Regions from separate parts of the Homo sapiens genome. Here region 2 is linked to region 1. Evidence: promoter capture Hi-C in 16 types of primary human blood cells and fetal thymus (Javierre and others, 2016). All regions are on one chromosome and are shown on one strand. The core of a region is centred on a gene start or on the middle of the fragment in contact, and the rest is flanking DNA. Distances in the headings are between cores, read along the strand shown. Region 1 holds the start of IL10RA (interleukin 10 receptor subunit alpha). Region 2 overlaps DSCAML1 (DS cell adhesion molecule like 1).

The links. The method cuts DNA at HindIII sites, captures the fragments that hold promoters and counts their contacts. A CHiCAGO score of 5 or more calls a contact.
Region 2: a contact is called between a fragment that was not itself captured here and the fragment with the promoter of IL10RA in region 1, in 1 of 17 cell types (endothelial precursors). The highest score is 5.6, in endothelial precursors.

What each region holds. Positions count from the first base shown.
Region 1 is chr11:117,982,588-117,987,925 of GRCh38, reverse strand. It overlaps IL10RA (interleukin 10 receptor subunit alpha), which reads right to left and starts at 1,532. Exons shown (of 7, transcript NM_001558.4): 1 at 1,392-1,532. The coding sequence starts at 1,458. RefSeq lists enhancers at 355-654, 2,045-2,104 and silencers at 1,455-1,734, 1,755-1,854. The HindIII fragment of the contact is 8,039 bases long and covers 1-2,819 here.
Region 2 is chr11:117,425,825-117,431,162 of GRCh38, reverse strand. DSCAML1 (DS cell adhesion molecule like 1) reads left to right here. Exons shown (of 33, transcript NM_020693.4): 32 at 130-441; 33 at 2,360-3,391. The coding sequence ends at 2,835. Among named protein-coding and RNA genes, the nearest start is that of CEP164, 100 kb to the right of the region's middle. RefSeq lists enhancers at 1-398, 399-1,076, 1,077-1,755. The HindIII fragment of the contact is 1,712 bases long and covers 1,953-3,664 here.

The DNA of each region.
Region 1 (5,338 bases), core at 283-2,782:
GCTTGCTGACATCTGCCTCCTTCTCTTCATAGGTCTCCTGGGCTCCCCAAGCTAAGTGCTTGCCTCATTCCCTAGTTTCTGGGAGGGCTTTGCCTATAGCCAGATGTCCAACCTCTGGCTGGGCAAGGACAGATGGAATAAATCAGCTCTGGCTCTACACATGGCTGAGGACATCCCCACAAGAGCTGGCACCTGTAGCTCCGAGGAGAGATACTCAATACCAATTCCTAGCTCTACTCTCCCTTTACCCCCAGTACACACCATTCACCATGGGAAACACTGCTGAAGGCATTGTCTTCTTTGTAAGAATGCAACAAACATTTCTACTTTAAGAGTCTTGTTGATCAAGCAGACTGAAGTATGTGCAAGGCCAACGGCTGGTTGGTTCCCTTTCTCTCCTCCTTGATCCTCTAAGTTCTCTCCATTTGACAGCGACTCTGCTCCCGCTCCCTAGTGTTCTAACTTCTCTACATCTCTCTAATCATGCACCTGTTTTTTATTTATTTTTTGGGGGGGAGGACTCTGTCATCTGTCTCTTGCTTTCTTTCTTATACCGTCTTTGATCTTCACGTCAGTGCCTTGATTTCGAAACATTAGACGGAAAGTGAAAAATGCAGCGAGTCGTTGTGGTATTTGGGCTGCACATCTCCGACTCAGCTCTCGATCACGTGAATGGCTGACTGCATGTTTTACTTTGTATTTTGGTGTCATGAAGAAGCAGTTTCGGTCCTTGCTCTCTGTCTCTGCTCTTGGTCCTTCCAACTCCCGGCTCTTTCATTCTGTCTCTGGGGTTTACTTTTCTTAGTTGCAGAAACCTTGCCGGAGAACTGTCTGGGTTAGGAGCCTGAACTGGGTTAGAAGCCTGAACTGGCTGGGTTAGGAGGAGAGAGGCAGGGGGCAGTGGGAGTGAGTTGGGGGCTACAGGTGGAGCAAGGGGGATCAGATCGGGGTGATCAGTGAGGGATGAAGGTGAGATGGGAGAAGGACAGACAGAGGTTAGTTGAAGAGTCGACTAAGAGAAGGGAGAGTCAGGAGATCAAAATTATTCCCCAAGGGGACAAGAAGTCCCATCATTTGAACCTAAACAGCAAAAAACCTAGAGCTAAACTTACGGCTCATCTAGAAGTGGGTGGATGATGAGGTTTGCGGGTTGGGGGTTTGGCCTTGCGCATACTTCTCTATCCTTCCCAATCCGTCAGTTCCTGTCAATTTCAGCCTCTTCCACTTCCACAACAGGTGAGCCTGAGATCCAGGTTTGCCAGAGTAAGGGAGCACCCGGGCACCGCTCTGCCAGAGGGCCAGCCAGCCAGGGCTCTCCACTGGATGGAGAACTTTAATGGAGCGGGCGCGGAGAGGGCAGGGCAGGGAAGGGCCGCGTCCCGGAGCCTTACCATGAGCGTCTGAGCCAAGACGGAGGCTGAGGAGCGCCGCCAGCAGCACTACGAGGCACGGCAGCATCCTGGGCGCGCCGCATCGTCCGGGGCCGGAGCGGAGCCGGCCTGCGCGCCTCCAGCTACCCTTGGGCTGGGACTGACAGCTCCGCCGCCCGCTCCGCCAGCGCCCCGCAGGGCTGACGTCAGCGGGGCGAGGCCTACAGACGCCCCGCCCCCGAGGCCGCGGACGGGGAACCACTGTCCCACAGGGCTACCGCCTGGGGCAACCCGAGGCTGTCCTGGGGCGCTAGCGGGCTCCGGCCACCCCTCCCTTTCCTTCCCTCTGGGCCTCCAGTGCCTTCGGATCAAAGTGGTCCGGGTAGCCCGGCCGGCCGTGGGTACGTGTGTGTGGGTGTGTGCGCGCGCGCGTGTGTGCATGTGCTGGGAAGCAGGTGGCCAGGCACAGCCTCGGCCCTGAGTGCGGAAGGTGGGGTGAGGGCGTCCGAGCCGCTTTTGCCTGGCGTGCCGGCTTGGCGTTAAGGATGTGGCCGCGGCCGCTCCGAATGGGGAGGAGGTAGTTGCAGGCCCTTGAGGGCAAAGGCGCCAGGACGCCGGTGTGAGTCTTGGCGTTGCCCCAGGGCCTCCCCGTCTGGGGGTCTGAGGACACCGATGGATGAATACTGAGTAGTCCCCTACCTAATTGTTGGAGGGGGGTCCACAACTAAGCAGTTTATGCAGACCTGCCCCCAAAGTCCCAGGAAGCTGAGAGACCCAAGAAAGAGGCTTTTAACCAGCAGCTCAGCAGCTGAGCCTCAAACCGCGATTTTTAAAATTTTTTTATCTATTTTTTTTTTTTACAGTCTCGCTCTGTCGCCCAAGCTGGAATGCAGTGGCGTGATCTCGGATCACTGCAACCTTCGTCTCCCAGGTTCAAGCGATTCTCCTGCCTCAGCCTTCCGAGTAGCTGGCATTACAGGCATGTGCCACCACGCCTGGGCTAATTTTTGTATTTTTAGTAGAGACGGGGTTTCACCATGTTGGCCAGGCTGGTCTCGAACTCCTGACCTCAGGTGATCCACCCGCCTCAGCCTCCCAAAGTGCTGGGATTACAGGGGTGAGCCACCGCGCCCAGCCTTAAACCGTGTTTTAAACTTAGTTTCTCTTCTTTCCTTTTTTCTCTTCCTCCTCTGGGCCTCAAGATATAATTTTGAGACAAACTGCATGTATGTTACCTCTCATCTTAAAACACAGCCTCAGGACGTGCTGTGACCTCCACTCCCTTTCCTGTCCCATACTGTACTCCCATGCCTTACGCACGTTTATTTACCTACGTGCTTGTTAAGCACACGCTATGCTCTTACCTGGTCATATATTTCCTTAGATGCCTCAGGAGCTGCGTCCTGATAGGGACCAGGCACCTCCGGAATTCTCTCTCCAACAAAAGCTTACTTCAGGAGTTGAACATATACCCTGCTGAAGAGTAACTAATTTATAACCTGGCAGGATCCACGATTGCACCAGCCCCTCCACCAAATAAGACGATAATTAAAGAGGACCACTGGAGCAAGTCACACCACCTGGTACCTCCTAACCTCCCCCTTGCCTTTTCTGCATTTCAGATCCTTTCTTAAAAAACCCCTGCGTTCCCCCCATGAATTGAAGAGTGGAATTGTTTGCTGCTCTTCCCCTGCTAGCATGGCAGCTAGCAGATTTTCCTTTATTATCCATTCTTTCTACAAGCAGAGAGCAGCCAGATCCTTTTGCAGGTTACAGGCTGACACATCCAGTTTCTTCGAAAAAAACATTTAATAAGGACTTATAAACAGAAGCTACGTTTGTGTCTCCATGATTCACCCCCAGGACCAGGGCTTATAGACCACAGGGGAAGGGTGATTCAGAAAAGATGTGTAGGACAGTTGAAGTATGATAACATCAAGGTTGTTTGACCTAAGGGCCGGATTTACAGTAAGTGTTTGCACTTACACAAGGAGCAATTGATAAATTGGGAATCTCAGAGGTCTTCTGGGAGGCTCCAAAGCCAACACGGCCAAAACTGTGGATTAGCATCCAACATGGAGTTGCTTTAGCCTCCATAAGGACTTCTCCCAGTCTCTTCTGGGTTTCCCTTGCTTGCTTGAAATCTGATATTCAGACCAATTTTTGTGTTGGGTAATAGCACTACTGGAGTGCTGGGTAACACCTCAGCACATCCTCAGTCTCTCGCACCTCTGTGTCACTTGGCTCATCTGAGGCCATCTCCAGGTGAACCAAATATGTGAGGATATGAGAGACAGACTGTCCATCACTTTTTCTTGGAGGCTGACACCTGCTTCAAAGTGTGTGTGTGTGTGTGTGTGTGTGTGTGTGTGTGTGTGTGCACTTGCAGTCATATATGATTTGCAGTGGCCAGTCTGTGGATTTGGATTTCATTGTGGTGTGGAGAACGTTGTCTGTTTGCCAAGTGCATATGTGTGTTTGGGACTGTGTGTGCATCCCTCAAGCCCTGCCCTTGTTCTCAGACAAACCAAAGAAGAGGGGCTCAGGACATTTCTGGCCAGCAAGGCCCCACTCCAGGCCTGCTGCCCCACCCACCCGGCCATACCCCGCCCTGCCTGTATTGTAGTTTGTACCTTCATTTGTTCCTGAGCTCTTGTCCTGTGTTCAAGAAGAATGAGAATTCGCTGACAGTTGAAGGGTGAGGATGGGCAGAGAATAATTTTATTGAGTGATGGACCAGCTCTCAGCAGAGAGGGGATGGGGAGGGGGGTGGTTCCCCGCTCCCACAGTTGGGTGTTTTTTTTTCTCAGTGTGGCTGGATCCAGGGCTTTTTCTGGACTCAGAATAGGGAGTGCATGCCGATTGGTTTGTGAGTATGCAAAAAAGGTTAAAGTGAAAATACCACTCAAAGGTGGGTACGACAGTGTAGAAAACCAATTAGGAAAGGGTAGGTGTATGTAAAGTAGGTGAAGGGTGGGGATCAATCAGAGGAAAGCGTGCCAAATGGGAAGACAGGTTCTCAATCTGGTCTGAAGATTTAACTTGCAGCTTGGCTTTCAGGTTTTAAGTTGTCTTCAACTTGGAGGTGGGGTTTCACCAGGGACCCGCCCTATCTGCCTAGGCATTTGACTGCCTCCTGTAACTATCACCTGCTCCTGGGAGGTTTCCCTGGCAGTGCCCAATGCCCACATGGAGGGCCTTATTTACTGCAGCTTTTGAGAAAGGGCCCCTAACTTAGGTGTGTGACACCAGCACTGTGCGTGGTCTAGGAGTTAGTGAGGCATTATCCCCATGGTTTGTGGAGATATAAACCCTATTTCAATATTTTCAGAGCGGAAATCTCTCTGCCCAGTGGCCTGGACTGAAAGTGTGCCAGGTTGGCTGGGGGTGGGAGTTGGGAGATCCCATCCTGTATCTAAGAGTCTACATTGGGACTAGAAAGACCTCACTCTTGACGATAGTCAGCGAAGGCAGGGGTGCCTCAGCTACATGGATGGGGGAGAGTGATATCTGCAGGCCTACCAGGACACATCATCAGCCTGGGCCACCCTCAGGAGACAGCTCTTGTTGCCACACCCCCAGATGAGTGGAGAGGGCAAGCCCCAGGCTTTTTTAATGTGTGAAGATTTTTTTTATACTCTCTGTTGCTCAAGTGAGGAATTAAGATGGTAAATTGCTCAGGAGTACCCTGTCATGACCCAAGGGGTGTAGCTGCCTTCTGAAACAACTACTTAGTTACCCCGACCTTTTAAAAGAGAAAGACACTGTGATGTTTCTTCCAGAACTTTTTTTTTTTTTTTTTGAGACAGAGTCTTGCTCTGTCACCCAGGCTGGAGTGCAGTGGCCCGATCTTGGCTCACTGCAAGCTCTGCCTTCCGGGTTCATGCCATTCTGCTGCCTCACCTCCCGAGTAGCTGGGACTACAGGCATCCGCCACCACGCCCGGCTAATTTTTTGTATTTTTTTAG
Region 2 (5,338 bases), core at 1,559-4,058, 560 kb after region 1:
TTCTCAGCCTGGTGCCCTCCATGGCCAGACTTACAGATGGCTGCTGGGGTTACGGGCAGGGGAAGTGCTCAGTCAGTCTCACTTATACCCTCCTCCCCGTAACCCACCCCTTTCCTCTTAACTCCCCAGACAAAGGAAGGAACAGCATGGTGTCCACTGAGAGTGCCTCTTCCACCTACGAGGAGCTGGCCCGGGCCTATGAGCATGCCAAGCTGGAGGAGCAGCTGCAGCACGCCAAGTTTGAGATCACCGAGTGCTTCATCTCTGACAGTTCCTCTGACCAGATGACCACAGGCACCAACGAGAACGCCGACAGCATGACATCCATGAGCACACCCTCAGAGCCTGGCATCTGCCGCTTTACCGCCTCACCACCCAAGCCCCAGGATGCGGACCGGGGCAAAAACGTGGCTGTGCCCATCCCTCACCGGGCCAACAAGAGTGAGTGCTCAGACCACCTCCCAGGCAGTGCCCCCCCGCCCCCTGGCCCCAGCCCCATGAGCCCTGGCTAGATCTAGTTCTGCCAGCACCAGGATCATGCCAGCCCAGCTTGGCTCCTTGGCAGTGCAGGGTGGTACCAACAGCAAGGACTTAGGAGCAGGCAGATCAGGGCCCACATCCTGGCTTAACCTCTTCCTATGTCTGTGGCCTTGGGCAAGTCATTTAACCTCTGTGGCCTTAAGTTTCTCATTTGTAAAATGCCAACGATAGTATCTACTTTGCATTGTCATAATGGGCATTAGAAATGATATACATCCCCAGCGTGTTGTAAGGCCTCATTCATTCGGTAGTGAGCATCCCCTTAATCTGAAGCTGTGCCAGGATGGAAACAGATCCCTTCAGGGTCAGCTGCCCAAGGGCCTCTGGTCTCAATGCTGTTTGAATTTAATCCAGACCCAAACAAACAATCCTGGCAGCTCCACCCACCATGGTCATACCTCTCAGTAGGCAGTGACCTGGCCTGGCTGGGAACCATCTGACCCCACGGGCCTGGCCGGAGCATATGCCCTTAGAGGCTGGCAGGGCAGGGCTAGGATCAGCAGGGGGAGTCTATCAGCAGATGCTGGGGTCACAGCGTGCAAAGCCCAGACTATCAAACAATGCAGTCTGGTCTGCTTAGCACTGGCCATGCTAATTGAGGCAGGGGGCGGGGCTTTCTGGGTCATGGAAAGAAGAGCCTGGAACAATGGAAAGACTGTGGAGACTGTGACCCTGAATGACACCCCCACCCCTTTTAGCTGTGCAAATTTAGGCAAATGATTTAATCTCTCTGAACCTCAGTTTCCTCACTTGTAAAGTGCAGACAGGTATTAACCAATCCTAGGGGCTGTCGTGAGGATTCAATAAGAAAATCTAAGGAAAATGCCTGGCCCAGCTCCCCGGGGGAAGAGGCCCATTTGCAGGCAGGGTGCCCATGGAGCACGGGGGGTCAGGCGGTGGAGGTCTTAGAAGCAAGTCACATGGAGGCAGTTTAAGAAATAAGGAACTAGGTTGGGTGCGGCGGCTCATGCCTGTAATCCCAGCACTTTGGGAGGCCAAGGCAGGCGGATCACCTGAGATCAGGAGTTCCAGAGCAGCCTGGCCAACATGGCAAAACCCCATCTCTACTAAAAAAATACAGAAATTAGCTGGGCATGGTGGCACGTGCCTGTAATCCCAGCTACTCGGGAAGCGGAGGTTGCAGTGAGCCGAGATCATGCCACTGCACTCCAGCCTGGATGACAGAGCGAGACTCCGTCTCAAAAAAAAAGAAATTAGGAACTTTCCACCTGGAGAAGAGGGGACCGAGGGGGAGGAGAGGGGACATGTAGCTGACTTCAAACATCTGGAAGGCTGCCATGGGAAAGAGGGGAACGCCTTACTCTGTGAGACCTCAGAGAACAGAACCAGGCTCCATGGTGGGGAGGCGACAGGGAATGATATTCCTTTCCTCCTCAGGGTAAAGAAAAGCTTTCCACCAGCCAGAGCCATTAGGACATCCTCGTCCTTAGCAGTAGTGAGCTCTCCACTACCGGAAGCTGACCAGCCTCTAGTGACCATTGAACAACAAGCATCCATGTACTGGGCAGCTGTTATCTGCACCAGCCACTGTAGCAAAGCACTTTACCTCCCTCACCTCATTCGCTCCTCACAATAATCCTGTGGGGAAGTAAGATCATCCCCACTTCACAGATAAGGAAACGAAGGCTCAGAAGGGCCAAGTACCCGACCTTTCCGCTACTCTTTATTGCCCCCCAGTGGAGGGGCCCCTATGCCAAATCAGAGAGAAGACTGGGGGCAGGGGATGGGGTGGGGGCTGAACGAGCTGCTTCCAGAGGGCTATGACTCTCTGTAACATCCTCTGCCTCTGTGATTCCAGGTGACTACTGCAACCTGCCCCTGTATGCCAAGTCAGAGGCCTTCTTTCGAAAGGCAGATGGACGTGAGCCCTGCCCCGTGGTCCCACCCCGTGAGGCCTCCATCCGGAACCTGGCTCGAACCTACCACACCCAGGCTCGCCACCTGACCCTGGACCCTGCCAGCAAGTCCTTGGGCCTTCCCCACCCAGGGGCCCCCGCTGCCGCCTCCACAGCCACCTTACCTCAGAGGACTCTGGCCATGCCAGCCCCCCCAGCCGGCACAGCCCCCCCAGCCCCCGGCCCCACCCCTGCTGAGCCACCCACCGCCCCCAGCGCTGCCCCTCCGGCCCCCAGCACCGAGCCTCCACGAGCCGGGGGCCCACACACCAAAATGGGGGGCTCCAGGGACTCGCTTCTCGAGATGAGCACATCGGGGGTAGGGAGGTCTCAGAAGCAGGGGGCCGGGGCCTACTCCAAATCCTACACCCTGGTGTAGGGCCCGCAGGAAGAGCAGCCACGCCTGGACCGCGCCGCGCCGCAGCCCCACACGCCAGCTCGGCTGTTTTTCTGCATTATTTATATTCAACTGACAGACAAAAACCAACCAACGACAAAACAAAAACCCCCAATCATGAACGCCTGTACATAGAACTCTTTTGTACAAATGAAACTATTTTCTTCTTCTCCATGAAGCCAGGGCACAAAGAATTTGACAGTACAAGTCAAATCCCCCACCCCACAAAATATGTGTGGAGATATATATACATATATAGACAGACAGGAACGCGTCCACGAGCTATATATCTATATATTTCTCTCACCCTATTTTGAGACAGAGGCACAAAGACTCAGCAATTTTTTTCCCTCCTCCTCACCTTCCCCCCAGTCTAGGTGGTTTTGACAAAGACCAAAATCCCAACTCAGAGACACTGCATGCGATTTTACTGTTCCAAGAAAACCAGGAGTTGCTTCAATTTGCAGATGCTTATGTGTTAATACCTTTTTCTATGAAAAAAGACCCAGCGCCGTGTGCAATAAAGGTTATGTTTCTATGTGGTGGCTTTTTTCCCATCTGGCGAAGGCCAGCGGGGAGGGAGGAGAGAGCCCGACCCCAGGCCGTCTGTCTCTCATAAAGAGACTTTGTGAGAAGCCTGGGCTTTGGCTCAGTGCTCTAAGACTTTTAAAGGCTTGCAATTAGCCAAGGTGCCTCCTCTTCTGTTCTCAGAGCTGTGCTGGGCCCGCAAGGGGAACTAGGTCGGTGGCTTCGTGCAAACTCCTAAACCCCTCTGACCCACAGTGTCCTTACCTGTAAACGGAGGGAAGCTTGTAGCAGATGGAATGAGGCAACCTTGGCTCACCAAGCGCTGGGGAGCCTGGGATAGGGGAGGGGTTGCCTACTGGCTTCTTTCCTCCAAGAGAGTGCAGGGTAGCCAGGGGGCCAGGACTATACAAGACCAATAGCCCACAGTTGTGAAAGAGGTGCCTATCGGGAGCGGGGAAGAAGAGATTATCTATAGCTGGGGCACCAGGCCAAGGCCTAAAGTTCTGGGCTGACTCTTAGGACCAGATGAGGCCAGAGGGAGAAGAAGAGAAGTCGTCGGAGGTGAGAGGAGTGAGAGAAGCTCATGAAGGAGAGGGAATGGAGCTCAGCCAAAGAGAACCAGGTCAGCACATCAGGTACCTCACCTGGCTTCCAAGGAGTCAGCCAAGTGGAAGAAAAGGCGTCCACACGGAGGAGCAGGCAAGGTGCCGTGGGTGTCCAGAGGCCTGGTTTCTGATGAGAGGGTCCAGAGGGCATCACAGGAGGTGACAGGTGAGATGGACCTCCAGGGACTTGAAGGTTTGGAGAGGCAGAAGCAGGTGACTGGCCCCTGGGTGAAAAGGAAGTGCACCTAAGAAGTGCACAGGGGGCTCTTGAGCACTGCAATTGAGGCTGAGCTGTGGATCAGGAACCTGGAAGGAAGGTGAGTCTGGGACCCACCGCTCCCTAGGAGCTGAGAGGAGGAACTGGGAAGGGCTGGAGAAGGAGGGAGGAGTTTGTGCATGCAGGCAGCTGATACCTATCAGCCTGGGCCCCGGTGAGGCCGCACCTGGGATGCATGACCTTTCATAGAAGCATCTTCCGAATAGCAACTCATCCCACAAATTCTCTCTGAGCACCTAGAGTGTGTGGGATGCAGAGGAGTCCCTCGCATGAATAACTAGATTCCCGGGTCGGCACGGTGAGAGGGGAGGGGCAGAGATTCCGTACGCCTCGGTATTCCTAGGCTCATGAAGAAATGCTCATCTCAGCCCCCACACCCAGGACCCAGCCAAGAGAAGCAGCTAACGGCATCAGTTGAAAACCAAAGCTCTGCATTCCAGACACCTGGTGACAGCCCAGCTTCGTTCCATCTCTGGGAGGACGGAACGCCTCCCAAGGACGCGCACGCCATCTGCAGGTCGCCTCCAGAACTGCAGGCACAACGATCAAACCTGAGCTGTCCGCATAGAAGACCCCCAACCCCACCTCCCCTGCACACCAGATATTGGGCAAACAAACACGAATCAGAGCCACCTCCAACCAGCAAGAGGGAATGAAAAACTCCTCAGAGGCTAGAGGCGCAGAAGATAGAAGCAGCCTAAGGGCTCCGAAGGGGAACGCTGTCATGAAAATACATGACGGATCCCGATACTACGTGCCAGGTGCTGCTTGTAACCTCATTGCAGACTTGGGAGAAAGGTATCACGATTACCACGTGACAGGTGAGAAGGTTAGAGGAGCTAGAAGAGATGGGAATGAGATTTAAACTCATGAGCGTCCAATTCCTTAACTACTGAGCCATACTACCTGCTGTTCCACTGTTCAAAGATTAGAGTTTCAGTTCTTCCCCCAGGATGTTGCCAGGGGAAGAGTCCGCCAGGTCCAGGGAGCAAGCTGGACGCATGGGCAGAAAAACAGTTGAGGCAGGTGACCCAATATGCAGCACAGGATGGATCAAGGGCTCCAAAGTACTTTA